Linked DNA regions of Homo sapiens: regions 1, 2, 3, 5, 6 and 7 are each linked to region 4. The links are contacts of gene promoters, found by promoter capture Hi-C in blood cells and fetal thymus (Javierre and others, 2016). All regions are on one chromosome and are shown on one strand. Each heading gives the region's core, a stretch centred on a gene start or on the middle of the fragment in contact. The rest is flanking DNA. Distances are from core to core; before and after follow the strand shown.

Region 1 (2,769 bases), core at 43-2,542, 450 kb before region 4:
AAACCCTGAATATCAACAATTTGTTTCAACATATTTTAGTTCGTTGACATTTTTATTCCATGGAAAATATCTGTGTTCCTTGACTTTGCTTTAGGCCAGTTCACTTACCAGTAATCACCACACTCTCTCTGCTTTCTGGCAGTTTAGAGACATGGAATTTTTTTCCAATTAATACATATAGCATATACCAACTGGTAAGCACTAGGAGTAGATATATAAATATCAAAATACAGAGGAGAAACAAGGCCTTCTTCAGTGTCTGTTGTTCCCCTTTTTGTCCATGAGTTCTCATCATTTAGCTCCCACTTACAAGTGAGAACATGCAGTATTTGTTTTTCTGTTCCTGCATTAGTTTGCTAAGGACAGTGGCCTCTAGCTCCATCCATGTTCCTGCAAAACATATGATCTTATTCTTTTTTATGGCTGCATAGTATTCCATGGTATATATGTACCACATTTTCTTTATTTATTTATGTTATTGATAGGGAATTTAGGTTGATTCCATGTCTTTGCTATTGTGGATACTGCCGCAGTGAACATTAACATGCATGTGTCTTTATGGTAGAATGATTTATATTCCTTTGATTGTGTACCCAACAGTGGGATTGCTGGGTCAAATGGTAGTTCTATTTTTAGCTCTTTGAAAAATCACCACACTGCTACAAAATCAATGTGCAAAAATCACAAGCATTCCTATACACCAATAACAGACAAACAGAGAGCAAAATCATGAGTGAACTCCCATTCACAATTGCTTCAAAGAGAATAAAATACCTAGGAATCCAACTTACAGGGGATGTGAAGGACCTCTTCAAGGAGAACTACAAACCCCTGCTTAATGAAATAAAAGAGGACACAAACTAATGGAAGAACATTCCATGCTCATGGATAGGAAGAATCAATATCGTGAAAATGGCCATACTGCCCAAGGTAATTTATAGATTCAATGCCATCCCCATCAAGCTACCAATGACTTTCTTCACAGAATTGGAAAAAACTACTTTCAAGTTCATATGGAACCAAAAAAGAGCCTGCATTGCCAAGACAATCCTAAGCCAAAAGAACAAAGCTGGAGGCGTCACACTACCTGACTTCAAACTATACTACAAGGCTACAGTAACCAAAACAGCATGGTACTGGTACCAAAACAGAGATATAGACCAATGGAACAGAACAGAGCCCTCAGAAATAATACCGTACATCTACAACTATCTGATCTTTGACAAACCTGACAAAAACAAGAAATGGGGAAAGGATTCCTATTTAATAAATGGTGCTGGGAAAACTGGCTAGCCATATGTAGAAAGCTGAAACTGGATCCCTTCCTTACACCTTATACAAAAATTAATTCAAGATGGATTAAAGACTTAAATGTTATATCTAAAACCATAAAAACCCTAGAAGAAGACCTAGGCAATACCATTCAGCACATGGGCATGGGCAAAGACTTCATGACTAAAACACCAAAAGCAATGGCAACCAAAGCCAAAATTGACAAATGGGATCTAATTAAACTAAAGAGCTTCTCCGCAGCAAAAGAAACTACCATCAGAGTGAACAGGCAACCTACAGAATGGGAGAAAATTTTTACAATGTATCCATCTGACAAAGGGCTAATATCCAGAATCTATAAAGAACTTAAATAAATTTACAAGAAAAAATCAAACAACCCCATCAAAAAGTGGGCAAAGGATATGAACAGACACTTCTCAAAAGAAGACATTTATGCAGCCAAAAGACACATGAAAAAATGCTCTCATTATCACTGGCCATCAGAGAAATGCCAATCAAAACCACAATGAGATACCATCTCACACCAGTTAGAATGGCAATCATTAAAAAGTCGAAACAACAGGTGCTGGAGAGGTTGTGGAGAAATAGGAACACTTTTACACTGTTGGTGGGACTGTAAACTAGTTCAGCCATTGTGGAAGACAGTGTGGCGATTCCTCAAGGATCTAGAACTAGAAATGCCATTTGACCCAGCCATCCCATTACTGGGTATATACCCAAAGGTTTATAAATCATGCTGCTATAAAGACACATGCACACTTATGTTTATTGCAGCATTATTCACAATAGCAAAGACTTGGAACCAACCCAAATGTCCATCAGTGATAAACTGGATTAAGAAAATGTGGCATATATACATCATGGAATACTATGCAGCCATAAGAAAGGATGAGCTCATGTCCTTTGTAGGGACGTGGGTGAAGCTGGAAACCATCATTCTGAGCAAACTATCGCAAGGACAGAAAACCAAACACTGCATGTTCTCACTCATAGGTGGAAATTGAACAATGAGAACACTTGGACACAGGGTGGGGAATATCACACCCCTGGGCCTGTGGTGGGGTGGGGGGAGGGATAGCATTAGGAGATATACCTAATGTAAATGCTGAGTTACTGGGTGCAGCACACCAACATGGCACGTGTATACATATGTAACAAACCTGCACATTGTGCACATGTACCCTAGAACTTAAAGTATAATAAAAAATAAGCAAGTTTACAAGGGCAAAAATAAAACAAAAAAGAAAAAGCACCACACTGCTTCCACAGTGGCTGAACTAATTTGCACTCCCACCAGCAGTATATAAGTGTACCCTCTTCTCCACAGCCGTGCCAGCATCTGTTATCTTTTGACTTTTTAATAAAAGCCATTCTGACAGGTGTGAGATCATATCTCATTGTGTTTTAATTTGCGTTTCTCTAGTGAGCTTTTTCCATATGTTTGTTGGTGGCATGTGTGTCTTCTCTTGAAAAGTA
Region 2 (2,763 bases), core at 245-2,744, 470 kb before region 4:
AACCAAAGGGATCAATCAGAGCCTTGATTTAAAGTACGTTCTGAATTATTTCAGACACCCGAATCCATCTAAACCCAGAACATTTCATTTGTAGATTTCAAAGACTTCTTGGCCTTCCTACCTTCCTTACATTTATGTAGCATGTGTTTATCCAAGGCACACCACCTGCCAGGCACAGTGCTGGGCTCTGTGTTGACACACATGAATGTGATCATCTTTCTGTAGCCCCCAGGTTACATGGCACCACAGCCAAGATACAGACATGTGTGAGAGAGTAATCAGGGTATTACTCAGGATTTGCTGGAGGAATCCCTCTTCAAAGGATATTCTAAATTGGTGTGTGTGTGTGTGTGTGTGCGCGCGCGCATGTGTGTGTGTGTGTGTGTTGAGGTGGACTGGGAGAAAATATACCCTCCTTGAGATCACCTCCTGGCTAGATAGTCTCTCCCTTCTCTGTTTGTGATAGAATGCAAGTGGAATTTGACAGGTGTACTTCTCAAACTAGAAACTAGAGAGCTGCTATCTCAGTCACCGTAAGAAGAACGAATCACACCAAACCTACATCATTGTCTTCTATGACAGGATTTCTACAAGGGTGAGATAGTGAGATGCTGGAGATCCCTGTTTTGGTAGTTCAGGGATTCACAGCATCTCCCATGCTGGTGATGTCAACCTGAAGAGATATTTCTAGTGATAGGTTCCAGGGATCTTTCACCAAACACTTTAATATATTTTATCATTGTCCTGAATACAGCCCTATAAGGTTCTTACTAAATTTGCAGGTGACATGAAGTGATAGACAACAAACAATTTGAATTCAAATTAATTTTGAAAGCTGAGACAATGGACCCAATTCTTCAGCAATTATATTTAAAAGATATAAATACATGCAGAAAACAAATTACAAGTACAGAGTGGAAGAGAGATGATTTAGCAGCAACGCATGCAAAGAGATCTAGGAGTTTTAGTTAATAACAGACTCAACATGAACCAGCAATGCAATGTGACTACGAAACAAGTAATTCCTCATTAGGCTGCATTAATGGAAACACGATACATAAGACCAAGGAAGTGGTGGTCTCATTTGCACTCTGTGATGAAAGGCCACACCAGGAATACAGTGTAGTACTGCTGGGCACCACATTTGTAGAGAAATAGAAACCAACTTGAGTGTCTTCAGAGCAGAATGGTGAGAGAACTCAAACTTCATTCAAATGAGGAGTAGTTACTGAGCCTGAGAAATTTATAGCCTGGAGGATTTGGTTGTCTTCAAATATATGAATGGCTGTGATGGGGAAAAAAGGATTAAATGTGTCCTGTTGTCACAAGAGGATGAAATAAGGAGCGGTGAATGGAAGCCCCAGGCGATAGAGGTTTCAGTTGCTGCTGACAGTCAGGGCTGTCTGAGGATGGAATGTATTGCCTCAGGACAAAGTGAGTTCATTGTCACTGAATTGGTTCAAAAATGACCAGGAAGACTACAGGGCAGGGAAGCTAACTTGTATTACAATAAGTAATTTTTTTCTTTTTTATTTGTATGCCCTTAGAAAGATGTTTACTTAACTTGATAAATCTGTAACAAGGGATAATCAAGATTTGGTTATAGGACAATTACAATTTTCTGACAGATCCCCCAAAATAATAGAAATTAATAGCTTACACACTACTTTATCCAAGCTGTAGAATGTATAACTTACTTCATATACTTTGTGTTTAGTCAGTTTATACAGGCTGAACAACATAAAGTTAAGACATAAAAGGGTTTTTTTTGCAGGTTTAAAGTACTACCATTTTTCCAAATTACTGGCTGATCCTAGAACTTTGAGAAACTTTGGTGTTTCCCCCCTTCCTACTTTTGTTTACATCATAGTACGTAGATGGTACAATATTTTGGTTAACCTCAGTCTGACACTTAGATTGTGTTCTCTTTTGCCCTATTAATGTCTAGAGTGTAAAAAGACCAGTAAAGTAGCACCAAGAAATCAAAGAAAATTTCCCAGTTCTACTCACTTGTAATTCTCTTAATTTAGTAGGGGCTTTCCACAGGAAATCACAATAGAATAGTTGAAATGCTCTTTATCTTATGTACTTTCCTTCTGAAGAAAGGGACAGTTAATTGGCTTTGTTCCCAACATGGTCCAAATTTTTATACAGGGCAGCTGTATTTACTGTAGTACAAAGGAGATTCTACACCGAATGATGTCTCTAAGTATTTTCAATAATTAAGAACCTAATTGCTTCTCTAGCCAGTGGGTTTCAGTGAAAGTGATAAAATAGATTTTCTAAGCAAGAAAAATACATAATGAGGGTGGTTGTATACCTTTAAGAAAAAAGAAATCAGTGATATTCAATCCCAAGTAAATTTGGATATCACAGAGTCAGAGATATTCTTAATTATTTTAAATTAAATTTGAGTCAAAAACAATGTGTTTAAAGACTTTAAAATCATTTTAAAAGAATGTTAGAAATTTACATTAATAATTTCTATTTTCAATGAATAAATGAGAAACCTAGAATTTTTGTTTTGGACACACTTTGATCATATCTAATGTGTTCTACTTCCTCTAATTATTTTTATGTTATTAGGATTTTTAAAAAATCTCTTAGATTAAAATTTCTCAGTGTATCTTTGTTTGCGTGTCTTTTTTTCTCTCTCCACTTATGTAATTGAAGCATTTCTGACATATCCTCAGAACACACAGATTCTTATCAGGACTTAACTACCCAGGGCAGGGCCCTCCTTGGATTTACTGAAAATAAACA
Region 3 (2,907 bases), core at 338-2,837, 480 kb before region 4:
CAGGTGAGTGAAACACTTTTGCATTTTGTAACATTTAACACATGCTAACTAGGTCACAAGCTTAAATAAAGCATCCACTGCGTTGTGGTTTCCAGAATCGTGACATTATATATGTGTTATATTTGGTCAGCATTTGATATAAATGTCTTAATGATTGCTGAACAGGCTATCCTTATAAGGTTGAAATTAGATGAAAGTTTTTGCTGTGGGGGCAAGAATGCCACATGAAACTTTGGGGCATGGTTCTAGTTCTTGCAGGTGTCACATCCTGACTCCTCAGGTTGCCAGTAACACTCCATTGCTCTACCTCCATGTTCAACTCTTTTAAGCAGTTATTTCTCAGAGAAGGTCATCAATTCCCAGTGAAATTTTATCCCTTAAAGTTCTGTGGGCTCTGGCATCCTGGAAAATTTCCCAGCTTTTAAGATCTAGGTAGTCTATGAAACAGAAATCAACTGAAATTTGTCTGCATATGCCAAAGTATTTTTTCCAATATCATTTTCATAAGCATAGCACTACAATAAGAATTTTTAAATGTAATTCCTTATTATGGATCCAACAGTTATAAGGAAAAATTGGCATTTATGATTTACCTGAAGGGTTAATGTAGTTCCAAAATTCAAAATTTAATTCATATAAAAGCTTATGTGAGTAAAACAATGTGTTTACCAAAGTGATGCTATTTTGATATCTGAATTCAGTGAAAGTAAGAAGGTTGTATTCAAGTCAGACTTTCTGACTGAATGGATGTAGCCTTGCCTTTGAGGTTGATGACTCATTTTAAGCAAATGGAGTTACTGAGATGAGTGAATGTGGATTAAAGGCAAAATTTTGATCTCAGAAATTTAGAATCAGAAATGCATCCAGACAATGCATTTGACGACATCTTCCTGAAAACAGTTGTAAATTTTCATCCTCAGATTAAAAACTTCTGAGGATTTAGATACTCGTATGTAACCATGAAAAATATCTATTAAGTATTGTCTATTTGACACCACTCCCAATAAGATATAAACACATACGTGTCTATATTTTTCCAACTGTCCCAAAGGAATTTTGTGATTAAAGATAATGAATTGTGTGTGTGTGGTTTTGGGGTTTTTTTTGTTTTTTTTTTTTAAGTTAGAAAAAGATTCTTTTTTCTTTGGGACCTCTTAGCCACAGATTTTCCCCAGCTCTGACGGAGATGAGTCATAGCATAGACTACTAATTTTTAGAACATCCAGTTCTGTTGCATATTAATCAGTGTTAATTAACTAATACTGTTCAAAAACTCAAGTTGTGTTTAAATTAGCAGTCAAGTAAATCTCTATTCTTATGGTTAGCTAATTCTGCAGGCTATTATACATGTGTTGTTTTTTTCATGGTTTTAGAAATTTCATTTAATTATTTAAAAAACCAACAGTGTTTGCTTACAAAAGGCATAGGGCTGAAATTGTAAATTATTTTTAAATATGAATTGTGTGAGAATCAAAACAAAGGAATTACCTCTGAAACTTCATCTCCAAAGGCTTCCCTTGTGTTTAGATCTGGAATCTCCCAAGGAATTGTTTTAGGTCTCACTGTGATGAGTTGATCATAAACTTTAGACATTTGTGTGCATTAAGGAAATTTCCCAGACCGGGGAATTTACTTTAGGCCTTACTTATCTGGTAAATGTGTTTGAGGACTGATCTTTGGAAATCAGGAAGTTTTTGGATAATATAGGAACAGTTCCAGATGCTTCCCAGAGATTTAAATCAGTTCAAGGCACCTGGACTGCTCAGAGACTGCAAGACCCTACTTGGCATAATGAAATGTAGTATAGTCTAAGTAGTGCATACGTTTTACATTTGTTCATGAGCTCAAAGCTGTCAAAATCTGCATGTTTGCTGGGGTTCCACAATTTAATGAGTAAGGGAGTGAACCCCCACCAGCAGCTAGTGGGTGTGATGAGCTGATGGGCAGATGATCTAGTGCTGTATATGCAGAGTTGGTCCCACAATAGAAACAAAAGGTGAGAATGTTCCTTAAAAAATCTTAACGTATTTTCTTTTCACCAAAAAGTGAATCTGTAAAAAGAAAATCATCTGCTTAAGCGACTATGTGGTTATAAACTACTAACACTACCACAAATTGATTGACATCATTATAAAGTTGAATCAGGAAATACAGCGAAACCTCCCTTAATATGATGATGAGGTCATAATTATCCTTGTTTTATTCTTTGTATACAAATATGAATAAGTTAACTTTATAAATCATAAAAAGTTAGAACTGGAGTAGACCTTAAAGATGGTCTGGTATAATCTTCCCTTTTGTACAAATGAAAAAATATGACACTTCTTAGGTGTTTATCAGCCCACAGTAGTTTATATAGTGAAGGCTTCCAGCTAACTTCATTAATTAACTATATCTATAAAATTTCTGGGTTAGATAGTATTTAAGGGAACTACCTAGTTTTGGAATCATTCTGGTAGGTTAATATTCAATCTTGAGCTTGACCATATTAATAATCATAAAAACAAAAATCTTATCCTCTGAAATGCTGAGAGAAGCTTAACAGATGCAGGGTCTAGCACAGGGTGTGTTCTACAACGCTGAAACAGTATATCTAAATAAACATGTCTGTAGTCCCTGCTGAACCAGCTGTAATCAGAGTAGATAAAGGAATGTCTTTAAGTAAGAGTCAAGGAAGCATAACTTTTATTAATATGGTACAGTTCAGAGCTTGGCAGCAGCAATTTAAGACAAGGAAGCTCTGACTAGAACAAGCCGTAACATGTTAAGTCTAAAGCCTAAACTCTTCAGCAGATTACTCTCCACACATGCATAGCATGAGAGGTTCCATGGGCTTAGGTACCTGGCTTTTTAGCCATATCTTAGTGTACAAATATCAATTAATACCATTTTTCGTAGTAAGATTAC
Region 4 (2,700 bases), core at 79-2,578:
CTGTATAGAATTTTAAAAAGTAAGTTAAAAAAAATTCTGGTACTCACAGGGGACAATACCTATGAATGCCCTTTTCATAGGCACACAGTGACTAAAATATTTGGGGCATGAATTCTCTAGGGGTGACAATAATAAGTGTCATTTTTCATGCTTCTGTTGCACACATAATTATATTTATCTCTAAGGAAAATCAGAGAGTGGGGTGTGGCCTCCCTCAGTGCCACCTGGGCCAGTTGTCTCCCCACATCACCAAATCTGTTATTTCACAGGCTCTAGGACACCCATAGAGGGGGAGTGAGGGACCTGGTATGGTCCCGTGAAGAGCTCTTGTAACACTACTGATTGATGTGACAGACACAGTATGTGTGCAACTTTCCTTTTTCCTTCAAAAGCACTGGTCTAAAGCAGGGATCCCCAACCCCTGGGCAGCAGACAGGTACAGGTTTGTGGCCTATTAGGAACAGGCCACACAGCAGGTGAGCAGGGCTAGAGGATTATGCCTGAGCTCCAGCTCCTGTCAGATGAGCAAAGGCATTAGATTCTCATAGGAGCACAGACCTGATTATGAACTGCGCATGTGAGGGATCTAAATTGCGCCTTCTCAAGAGAATCTAATGCCTGATGATCTGAGATAGAAGAGTGTCATCCCATCTTGCCCCCCACCCCAAACTGTCTTCCATGAAACTGATCCCTGGTGCCAAAAAGGTTGGGGACTGCTGGAAGTGCTTGTCCCCTGGGTTAAAGCCAAGAGGAGTAAACAGGATTAAGGGGCGTGGATGTGGGTGGGTGGGGGAAGAGAGCTTTCTCAGGATCGGCAACCAATCCCAGAATCTCCAGTCGCAGGAGCATGTATGTGAAGGTTTATTTGCAGGGATCCACCGTTTGTAAAATAGTACACGCTTAATAAAATTAATTTTGAGGTCAATCTTAACTGACAGATCTCTTCTTTCTTACTGGCGAGTATTTGTAAAATAAGAAAAACAGGAGGAAAAGAGAACAAACAAGAGAGATGTGGGATGACGGAGTAAGGAAAGGAGTCACGGAGAGGAGAGACAATGTCTGTGGCTGTTCCCTCAGCGTCTGGGAGAAGAGCCCAAGAATCCCATTGAACTGAGGGGGAGGAAAGGCCCTCCTGCGGCCTACCGCAAGGAAACGATCGCGGCAGACCCGGGACTAGCGCCAAAGGGCTTGGAAGGGCGGCGTTAAGAAAAATGGGCCGTACCTACAACTTCTTTCGCAGCCCTCGCTGGCCCGGGAGCGGCCCAGGAGCCCAGTGACCGTTGCGTAAGCCACGCGCCACCCAGGTGGGCAGGGTGGTGACGCGAAAGCCCGGATAGACTTCCGCGCAGGGGCGGGGCGGGGCGAGGAGGCGGCAGCGCGTTTAAGTGACGTCTTGGCTGTCCGCGCCGGCAGAGGCGAGGGTTCTGGGGTTTCTGGGACTGTCTGGTGTGTTTTCTGTCTATTGAACCCTTTCCTTTCGACGTCTCTTCTGAATATTGACTCATCGGGTTGTAGAAATCCAGGGACAGAGTTGACATCACTGGGCATTTTAGCCAAAAAGCAGTGCTCGGGACTGCATGTGCCAGAAGTAAACTTGTCAAAACTCAGATTGTGTTTCCCCTAAAGTCAGCTTAAAGTGCAATGGTAGAAGAGCACGGTCTCTCCCCAAGACGGCCTGAGCTTAAACTGCAGCGCTGTCACTTGCTAGCTATGGGACCTAGGCAAATACATCGTCTCCCTGAGGTTGTCTTCTCATCTGTAAAGGACGCTGTGGTGGTGGTGTGAGAATAAATGAGACATGGCAAGTGTCTGGAACAAAGACGCTGTGTACAAAGTAAACACTTAATATACTGTTATCAGTATAAAACCTTTGTGAGTTTTTTTTTTTTTTCCGCATGAAATCTTATGTGGAAAGTTGTATGTGAAAGAAATGAAAGCGGAGCTGCGTTGATGGTGGGCCCAGAAGCTTTGGCCTTTCAGTCCCAAAGTTTCCAGTAATAGAATCCGCGCTTCCTATAAAAGACAAAAACAACTGTTATTGGAGAAAGTGTAAACTTCTTAGAAAGACAAACTGCCCTTTCCTATCTAATGTTTCTCCTGACACTCAATGTTTACTCTTGAACACTGTATTCCTTTTTGCCTCAGTGCGTTCTGTAAAGTTAATTCCTCTACCGGAGTGTTCTTTTTCTTAGTCATCATCTAAGATCTGATCCAAATTACCGTTCCTTCTTGGGTAACTTAAATACGAAATTATCTTTTTATTGGTTTTGTTGACGTTGTTGAGACAGGGTCTCACTCTATTACCCCGGCTGGAGTGCAGTGCGATCTAGGCTCCCTGCAGCCTCCTCCTCCTTGGTTCAAGCGATCCTCCTGCCTCCTGAGTAGCTGGGACTACAGGTGGGCACCACTACCCCCGGCTAATTTTTGTATTTTTAGTAGAGAGGAGTTTCACATATTGCCCAGGAGGACTTGAACTCCTGGACTTAAGTGATCTGCCCGTCTTGGCTTCCCACAGTACTGGGATTACAAGCGTGAGCCACCACAGCCCTGCCCTTTTTATTGTTTTTAACACCTTCCCTCCTTCAACGTGTTATAGACATCTCAGCAAGGATTTATTTTTCTTCCTCGTTTCAGGAGAGTAGACAGGGTTTCATGATTATAGGGTTAAGGAAATGTTTTGTACTCATGAAAAGGAAATGT
Region 5 (2,743 bases), core at 102-2,601, 410 kb before region 4:
TTTCTATTGAGTACTTTATTTAAATTTCTTCAGTGAAAACATAGCCTTAATTTGATTTGTTAATATAAAATTATCAGCTGGAGGTAACTCCTACCAGATATTTAAGAAAACTAAATTTACTACTAGGTGTGCTCAAAATCAACAATCAGTGGGTTGTAGTGAGAAACAAGAAGCTATTAAGACTTGTAAATATGAAAATAACCCACCACAGAAAAAATTGTAAGTATATGAAGTGATGGATTTGTAACTTAGCCTGATTTAATCATTTTATGTTGTAAACTTAGATTAAAACATCACATTGTACCTCATAAATATATACAATTACTATTTGTCAATTAAATTTAAGATAAATAAGAATTTTAAAACATGAATTATTGAATGGCTAAGTGTTAGTACAGTATATGTACTTCATTAGCATATAGTATGGAACAGGATAACTTGGGTGCCAAGGTCAGAAGTTAATCTGGGAATGAGAAATATTCCTGCAGTATGGCCCCACCTATTGCAGTAACAGCTACCAAGCTGTGAGTTGTAAGTAAGTATTCACTGCTGACCAGTGAATCTCCTGCCCTTTCACTTTCCAGACGCCCTTGCACTTGGCAGTGATCACTAAGCAGGAAGATGTGGTGGAGGATTTGCTGAGGGCTGGGGCCGACCTGAGCCTTCTGGACCGCTTGGGTAACTCTGTTTTGCACCTAGCTGCCAAAGAAGGACATGATAAAGTTCTCAGTATCTTACTCAAGCACAAAAAGGCAGCACTACTTCTTGACCACCCCAACGGGGACGGTAAGAGACAATCACACATCATTGGTGTAACTTTCTCCACCTTCTAAATATCTACTAGGTATTTGATAAACGTGTGTTATTTGATTTGCACCCAAAAGTGCTTTCCTTAGTCACCTGGAGTTCATCATCTCTTTTGGGCATTTCTGTTGCTCACCAAAGCTAATTTTTTTAAAGATGATTTGGAATAGTTAGTAGGAGGAGAAAGCAGAGGCCTGAGTAAAGATTCATCTTGAAGTACACAAAGCGTCGTTTATTCAGAGAATGTTTATTTATGTTCATGTCTCCTGAGAACATAATAGGAGACTGTGGGTCTTCAAAGCAGAACAATAGACTTATAGTATCTTTACTGTCCCTCCCCATGATTCAGTTTTTGCCATTTCCTTCAGCTTCACAAGGGCCATCTTGTGAGTTAGCCATCCCATCCTGTGACTGTCCCTTTGCTTGGACTCTAGGTCTGAATGCCATTCATCTAGCCATGATGAGCAATAGCCTGCCATGTTTGCTGCTGCTGGTGGCCGCTGGGGCTGACGTCAATGCTCAGGAGCAGAAGTCCGGGCGCACAGCACTGCACCTGGCTGTGGAGCACGACAACATCTCATTGGCAGGCTGCCTGCTCCTGGAGGTGAAGGGCACACTTATTTGCTTTTGCATTAAATTTCTGAGGGAGATTTAAGGAAATCTTTTCAAAGAAGGAAGTCAGTAGCTGCTGTTCTCCCTTACAATCAGCTCTATTTGTTTAACATTTATGGAGGGCTTCAGAGTACCACCTTTAGACATTCCCCCAACCCCCTTGCTTGGCATCTCTAACTGGGGATTTCTTCAATGACAGAGCCAGCCCAAAGTAGCAATTGGGCTAGTAATAGGACCCAAGGAGCCATGCACACTGGGAGGTGGGGACAAAAGGGCAAAAGAACCTTCCACTAACGCTTTCTTGTGTGGGCTGGATTGTAGGGTGATGCCCATGTGGACAGTACTACCTACGATGGAACCACACCCCTGCATATAGCAGCTGGGAGAGGGTCCACCAGGCTGGCAGCTCTTCTCAAAGCAGCAGGTAAGATGGTGATCTGGCGGTCATTAATGAAAAATGTTACCAGGAATGCAAACCCAACTTCAATAGAGCAGTCATGTTGCCTTCTTTAAGCCACAGACCTACTGCTGAAAAACAAGGGTAAATAAAAATTATATGGCAAATCACATTTTATCTGCCATAAGGCACTGTTTGGACTAGTAATCTTGGGCTTTACCCTGATAGTCATTTTAGTTTTTACTTTCTGATTCATCTGTTTGTTTGGGGTTTGATTGTTTAGATTGACTCCCATGACAAAGGGTCTTTTCAAAGTAGAGTTTGATTCCTTATAGAATTCTGAGTGGTATTAGTCTCAGATCATATCAGAAGGCCCCAGAAGAAAAAGATTATTGGTATAAGAAATCATTTAAAGACTTCATTTTGAAAGAAATATCTCTTAGAAATTGAAGTGTAGGAAAAAGAAAATGGGCCATGTATTAAGACCCATTATGTGGAAGGCACTAAAAATGGCTAGCACTTATTGACCTTTCTGTGTACCAGGCACTGTGATATGCACTTTATGTGCACAGTCTCATTTAATGCCCAATCACCCCTTGTGACAAATACCATTATTCCCCATCTTAGAGTCAAGGAAACAGACTAGAGAGACTACCAGATCCCACTTCAGGGTTCCAGTAAGTGACAGAGCTATGAATCACACTTCGGCAGTGTGAACTTCAAGACTTTATTCTCTGTACTATGTTTCTCTCTCCTATTTTGCTCATAGGTTTGCAGATGTTATTCCATTTAATTCTCTAGTCCTGTGAAGTATAGAAAATTATCCATGCTGATCTTTGAATCTCCAGTGCCTTGCATATTTAGAACCTCAAAATATGTGTAATGAAATTGGCATCTGAAGCCTGCCCTGACATATCTGATATACTTTAG
Region 6 (2,871 bases), core at 282-2,781, 430 kb before region 4:
AGCAACAAGCCACATGGGTGGGTGTTGTCTCCTGTGAGAGCAAGATGTGATAGGTAATCTTTGAAGAGGGCTTTCCTTTCCTAGAATTCGTGCTGCCACAGGAGTGTTTAGAAAACGGTTCTACAAGTTCTTGTTTCTTTTCTGAGGTTGTGGCCTCTCCATTGTTTGGTCAGATTTGTAGTGCACTCTATATCCTGGTGGTTTGAAAACATTGTCAGCACAATAACTTTTCTTTCTTCACATGAGATTTCATACAAAATCCCAGTGTATGGACATGGTAGGCTTTGATTAAAATAGGGGTGAAGGGCCCTGCCAGCTCGGCCTTCCGAGAGGCTGTCCCACCTCTCCTTACTTCCCTATCAGGAGCTGCTGGAGGTCTTTTGAATGCTTCTGCCTACACAAAATGATGTGAAAATCACTGCTTTAATTTAAACACCCTTCTTTAAAAGTAGACACAGAAGAAAAATATGGATAATTTTTTTAGACTTTCTGAGGAAAAAAATAGATTTCTTCTCCAGAAATATGTCTTCAAATAATGCCAGTTTTTGCTAACACAGAGAATCATGAAGAAAGAAAACCCAGGTTACCTGTATGTGTATGAACCTAGAAACATTCAAAGCTCAGCTTGGTATCTAGGCTGCCTGTCTCCCTTTCCCAGTGGTATCTATGCCTCAGAAAAGTATGTTATAGTGGGGGTATATTCAGGTGATTACTTTAATGCCTCGTTATCATAGTAGGAACTATCCAATGCAGGGATTAGAGAATGGGGTCACCTGAAAGTTCAAAATTGCACCTGTATGCTTCATGCACCTACCTTCCAGGCTGTCATTGATGAAAAGCTTCATACAATACAAAGTTTAAGAACTGTCTGGAGAAATACTTACCCATTGAGCTCTGAAGGAAAGAATGGACAACATATATATATATGAGGACAACAAATTACTTGATTCTATAGAAACCTTCTGGATTATAAAAACTCAAGATAATAGGACCAAGGAGAAATAATCTGACCAGGCAATATAACTGGTCAGAAAAGTAGTAGGCCATTTAGCATTAGAGTAAGTAGATAGAAATGGATCCAAACTGTACAACCCAGGGAAACATTGCATACATTTCTCAGAAGTCATTGAACACACTTTTCCTTACCCCCAGTCTCTGTAGTCATTCCCTATCTCATTGCCTAATTTTATGTTCTTCATTATTTTTATCAATATGTAAACCTGTCTTATCTATTTATTTATGGGTCTATTGTCTTCCTACCACCCCGAGTACAAAGAATCTTCTTTAGGTCATAGACTATCTAGAACAGTATAAGTTGCATAGAAAATGCTCATTAAATATCTGTGGACTGACTTATTGATTGACCAGCCAAGCTGCCATCCATCCTCATCTATAAGGCTAGTAATATGTTGGGTATCATCAGGTAAGACATTATACATAAATATAAAGCATCATACAGAACCAGCCCGGAGCTTTGCATCCTCTATGGTCATCAACATTGTACTTCACAAAAAATTATTGGAGATGGTTGGGTCCAGGGGAGACGATCGAAATAATCAAGAGAAGGATGATTGGCAGAGGAGGAAGATAGTTGAGGAACTGCTGTACAAAAGCAAAAAAAAATAAAAAAAAAATAAAAGAGACCATAATGATTTTTCAGTCTGAAAGATGGAGATTAGGGATAAATAATCTTTAAATTATGAAAGGTATGGCCAAGATAAATGCAGTCACCTTTACTGGTAAACTAAAACCTGAAAAGTGAGAATGAGGTACTTTTAAGGCACATGCACAGAAATAGGTAGCAAACACTAGGAGATTATCCATATTTGTGAATTGAACTATTATCTAAAGTCATCAACTGTTATGTAAAGTCATTGATTATTAAAGTCACTGGTTATTATTATACAAAGCTATTTTGGAGTGTTTTCAAAAGAATGACAGCCTAACATAATGAAAACATCACTGCACTTTGAGACTGATCTTGACTCCATTGTGACCTCAGATAAGTCACCTAACCCCTCCTAGCTTCAGTTTCCTCTCCTGCAAAAGGAGAACTTGTAGTAAGTGGCTGCTTTGGTTCCTTCTAAAATAGGTTGATGTTTCATAGTACATCCCATGGTGCCATTGTCAAAAGCAGACCGCAAGGATAAATGATCCCTTGAATATGGAGTGTGAAAGTCTCCATATTCAATTCTGTGGAGATTCAAACAGCAGGTTCTTTTATAAAGCTTATGTGGAATGTTCTGTATCAGTTTCTTGTCATTGGAATCTTACTAGCTGTGTTATAATTAATATTTTGCCCTTAAAATTCCCATTTTACAGTGAAATACAGCCAATAAATATCTCTCTGCTTTAAAAGGTAAAATGAATACATAGAAAATACTAACTAGTCTCTTTGCTGGAATCCATGTCAATAGATAACATTTATTTCTGAAGATAAATAAGTTGCCTGCTTCCCTCTTGTGTTTCATATGTCTGCAGTGAACAGTAATGAGTATAGCTGTAAATTAGTTAAGATAGAACCGATGGGGAAATTATAAATCTGAATCTAAAACATATTTGATAAGTAAGTCAAAGTTTCTCCACTTAAAGGTCATCCCCTTCTAGTGGAAGCATATTTTTCTCAAAATTTGGCAACCTTGGTTTTTTTTTTTTCCTGGGAAGTCTGGAGATGCTCAGCTTTTAAACAACTATTAAAGTGTACTTTGTTACCCTGCTTTCCCCTGCTTCATCTTTCAACTGCAGTTAGATGATCATGAGATAATCAGTAAACAGAGACCTTCTATCTAGCCCTAAGATGACTGAAACAACCACAGAATTAGAAATAATCGAAGTTCTTTCTGAACATAAGCATGACAAAACTGACATTGA
Region 7 (2,749 bases), core at 47-2,546, 500 kb before region 4:
TGTGGGTTGATTTTTTAAAAATCAAATTTATAAAAATTCTCAACTGTTATTTTTTTGAATATTTTTTCTGTCTTTTTTCTGTTTCTGGGATTCTATGTTACAAATACGTAAGACTGCTTAATATTGTCCTGTAGGTCACTGAAGCTGTGTTCACTTCTTTCTACCTTTTTTTCTCTGTAATTCAGTTTGGGTAGTTTTTATTGACCTTTCTTCTAGTTTATTGGTACTTTCTTCTATAATGTTAAATATGCTAAGTCCATCTAGTGAAATTTCATTTCAGTTCTAAAATTTCCATTCTTTTTTTTAAAAGAAAGGTATGCATTTCTTTGCTGATATTGCCTATCTGTTCTCTCATTATGTTCATCTTTTCCTTTACATTATTGACCATATGCTATTAGCTATTTTTGTCATTTGTGTCATTTTTTTTCTCAGTCTTATTTTCCTATTTCTTTGCAGGCTTCATTATGTTTTATTGTACATTGTGGAGAGTTTGGGTTTTTTGTCTTCCTTTAAAACGTGTTGAGCTTTGTTGTAACAGGCAGTGAATTTACTGGTGGATCACCTAGTTTTATTAAGATAGGTTTAGAGTAGCCCTTATTTTAGGATGTTTCTAACTCCCATCGTGTGGTCTTTCTGAAATCACAACTGAATGCTCACAATGTTCAGTGATGTCTTTCCACCCTGGATTATTACAAATTCAGTGTCTCTCAGCACTATATGATGTCCGGAATTTCCATTTAGCTCTTAGATGCCCAGAAACTGTTTTCTATTAGGTTTTGCAGGGTCTTGTCCTACACTATCACAGCTTGGTATTTGGCCAGTGACCAGAGATGACCCCTATGTAGATTTCTGAGGCTCTTGCTTTTTGTGTAAAGCCTTTCTTTGTGATATTCTGCCCATTGGTGTTCTCTCTTTGGGCTCTCCCTGTGTCATGATTTGGAAAGTGTCCTCAGTCAAAAAGTGAGGGCGAATTTAGAATTTACCTAAATCACCTTATAATATATAGCCCTATGAAGTCCAATGTCTTAAATTACATCTTTAGGTATTTTGTATGGTTTCACAGTTGAGTATAGCAAGGAGGGAGGTTCAGATAACTGTTAATCTGTGATAACTAAAACCAGAATTTGACATTCTGACAAACTTGAAATTGCAGTGCTTCTTAAAATTAATACAGTATTACTTAAAAAACAAAAACAAAAAAACCAGTGTTTTCCAATTTGCCAATACAAAAAAGCAAAACTCCCATCTCTACTTTTTAGGAACTTCTATCCATTTGAGAAGATGATAAATATATAGGTAAAGTTAGATTGCAGTAAAACTATGCTGTCTAGTGTTAAATCACCAGTATATATAAGTTTTATAGATATTATGTGACTACAGAGCTATAGGTTATAGGAAAAATATAGGATTTCTTGGCAGAAATTGGATTTAACTAGAGCCTTGAAGAGTGGATGCTATTGAGGTAGAAAAGATGGCATTTCAGGATGCAGGGCATATTGTGAACAAATGTACAAGATGGAAATGAGCAAGTCATTCTGAATGATTAATCTGTCTATCATAGAGGGTTTTGATTAGGACATAGTAGTAGTTGATGCTTATAATATGATTTAATATAATAATGTAATGTGCTGAGTGGTTGAAGTCTTTGGACTTTATCTTATAAGTAATATGGCAATAATGTGAAAGATTCTTGAAGAGGAAGAAACCCTGCAGTGAGGGAGAACAGTACAGAGCCTATTACTGTCATTCAGAGGTGAAGCAATAAAGGTCTCTCCTAGGATGTTGGAAAGAAGGGGCAGATCCAAGAAACAACATGAAGAAAATAATCAGCAGAAATTGGTTATTGACTAGATATGTGTGAAAATGATATATTGGCAGAAATTGCAAAGTCAAAAATGGGGCTCATTGCAGCAGGAATGATGAAATTGCTTTTAGATAGAGAGGTGAAGGGATTTAAAACATTAACTTGTTTTAAAGGTATCACTGCTTAAAGCTAACAGTGATTTATTAATATTTGCACTCTGAAAGTTTTAACAGTTTTAATTTTATGTATACACCACAGTGTTTTGGCTACTATACTTGCCTCTTTTGTTCAGTTGGGAATTGAGTAAACTAATAGAGTAAAAAAATGAGTACAAAGTGGGCTTTGACTAGAACTCTAACAAAGTGTGATCACTGAATTACCAAGATAATTAACCCATACCCCACATATACTCCATTTCCCATGACACATATTATATTGCATTGTTTTTGCCTATTTGCCTTCCTACTTCCTAAACTGTTGAATTAGTTTGCTTTTGTTGCATTAAAAAAAAGGAGAATCACCACAAAGCAAATTAAAAGATACTGATTACTTCTTCCAATTCTGTGGGCTGCCTAGTTCATCTGGCCTGGCCTGCTTTGGCTAATCTCTGAGGTCTTTTGGCTACTTGACTGGTACTGTTTGTAGCTACTCAGCTGGTGCCCTACTGCTGTTTGTCTGAAGTTGTTTTGGCTACTCAGCTGGTGCTAGGGAGCCTCAGCTAGGACTGCCTGTCTGTGCTCCACATGGTCTTTGATTTTCCAGTGGCTGGTGCAGGCTTGTTTGCATGGTAACAATGTTCCAAGAAAGCAAGAATGATCATTGCAAGGCCTCTTATAAGCTGGGTTTAGAACTTGTACTTCTACCTCTTCCTATTGGTCAGAGTATGTCCGTAGGTCTGCCAAGACTCAAAGCACAGAGAAATAGATGTTTCCTCTTGTTGAGTGG

The links. The method cuts DNA at HindIII sites, captures the fragments that hold promoters and counts their contacts. A CHiCAGO score of 5 or more calls a contact.
Region 1: a fragment that was not itself captured here is called in contact with the fragment with the promoter of SLC9B1 in region 4 in 7 of 17 cell types (naive CD4 T cells, total CD4 T cells, neutrophils and 4 more); the score reaches 8.0 in naive CD4 T cells.
Region 2: a fragment that was not itself captured here is called in contact with the fragment with the promoter of SLC9B1 in region 4 in 16 of 17 cell types (total CD4 T cells, non-activated CD4 T cells, activated CD4 T cells and 13 more); the score reaches 15.6 in total CD4 T cells.
Region 3: a fragment that was not itself captured here is called in contact with the fragment with the promoter of SLC9B1 in region 4 in 16 of 17 cell types (naive CD8 T cells, total CD4 T cells, activated CD4 T cells and 13 more); the score reaches 14.2 in naive CD8 T cells.
Region 5: a contact is called between a fragment that was not itself captured here and the fragment with the promoter of SLC9B1 in region 4, in 17 of 17 cell types (neutrophils, fetal thymus, naive CD4 T cells and 14 more). The highest score is 14.0, in neutrophils.
Region 6: a contact is called between a fragment that was not itself captured here and the fragment with the promoter of SLC9B1 in region 4, in 16 of 17 cell types (naive CD4 T cells, activated CD4 T cells, non-activated CD4 T cells and 13 more). The highest score is 12.8, in naive CD4 T cells.
Region 7: a contact is called between a fragment that was not itself captured here and the fragment with the promoter of SLC9B1 in region 4, in 14 of 17 cell types (neutrophils, non-activated CD4 T cells, activated CD4 T cells and 11 more). The highest score is 13.3, in neutrophils.

What each region holds. Positions count from the first base shown.
Region 1 is chr4:102,569,983-102,572,751 of GRCh38, forward strand. All of the region lies in intron 6 of NFKB1 (nuclear factor kappa B subunit 1), which reads left to right. Among named protein-coding and RNA genes, the nearest start is that of NFKB1-AS1, 69 kb to the left of the region's middle. The HindIII fragment of the contact is 5,915 bases long and covers 1-2,769 here.
Region 2 is chr4:102,551,012-102,553,774 of GRCh38, forward strand. The region is part of intron 5 of NFKB1 (nuclear factor kappa B subunit 1); the gene reads left to right. Among named protein-coding and RNA genes, the nearest start is that of NFKB1-AS1, 50 kb to the left of the region's middle. The HindIII fragment of the contact is 3,657 bases long and covers 1-2,763 here.
Region 3 is chr4:102,534,791-102,537,697 of GRCh38, forward strand. The region is part of intron 4 of NFKB1 (nuclear factor kappa B subunit 1); the gene reads left to right. Among named protein-coding and RNA genes, the nearest start is that of NFKB1-AS1, 34 kb to the left of the region's middle. The HindIII fragment of the contact is 1,895 bases long and covers 641-2,535 here.
Region 4 is chr4:103,018,377-103,021,076 of GRCh38, forward strand. SLC9B1 (solute carrier family 9 member B1) reads right to left here and starts at 1,329. Exons shown (of 12, transcript NM_139173.4): 1 at 1,223-1,329. It also overlaps a transcript of SLC9B2 not described here. RefSeq lists an enhancer at 1,170-1,670. The HindIII fragment of the contact is 6,332 bases long and covers 1-1,964 here.
Region 5 is chr4:102,605,912-102,608,654 of GRCh38, forward strand. NFKB1 (nuclear factor kappa B subunit 1) reads left to right here. Exons shown (of 24, transcript NM_003998.4): 17 at 585-786; 18 at 1,239-1,408; 19 at 1,738-1,840. The region is part of intron 1 of LOC105377347 (a long non-coding RNA gene); the gene reads right to left. Among named protein-coding and RNA genes, the nearest start is that of NFKB1-AS1, 100 kb to the left of the region's middle. The HindIII fragment of the contact is 8,761 bases long and covers 1-2,743 here.
Region 6 is chr4:102,586,831-102,589,701 of GRCh38, forward strand. The region is part of intron 11 of NFKB1 (nuclear factor kappa B subunit 1); the gene reads left to right. Among named protein-coding and RNA genes, the nearest start is that of NFKB1-AS1, 86 kb to the left of the region's middle. RefSeq lists a silencer at 30-79. The HindIII fragment of the contact is 1,389 bases long and covers 838-2,226 here.
Region 7 is chr4:102,516,282-102,519,030 of GRCh38, forward strand. All of the region lies in intron 1 of NFKB1 (nuclear factor kappa B subunit 1), which reads left to right. Among named protein-coding and RNA genes, the nearest start is that of NFKB1-AS1, 15 kb to the left of the region's middle. The HindIII fragment of the contact is 5,636 bases long and covers 1-2,749 here.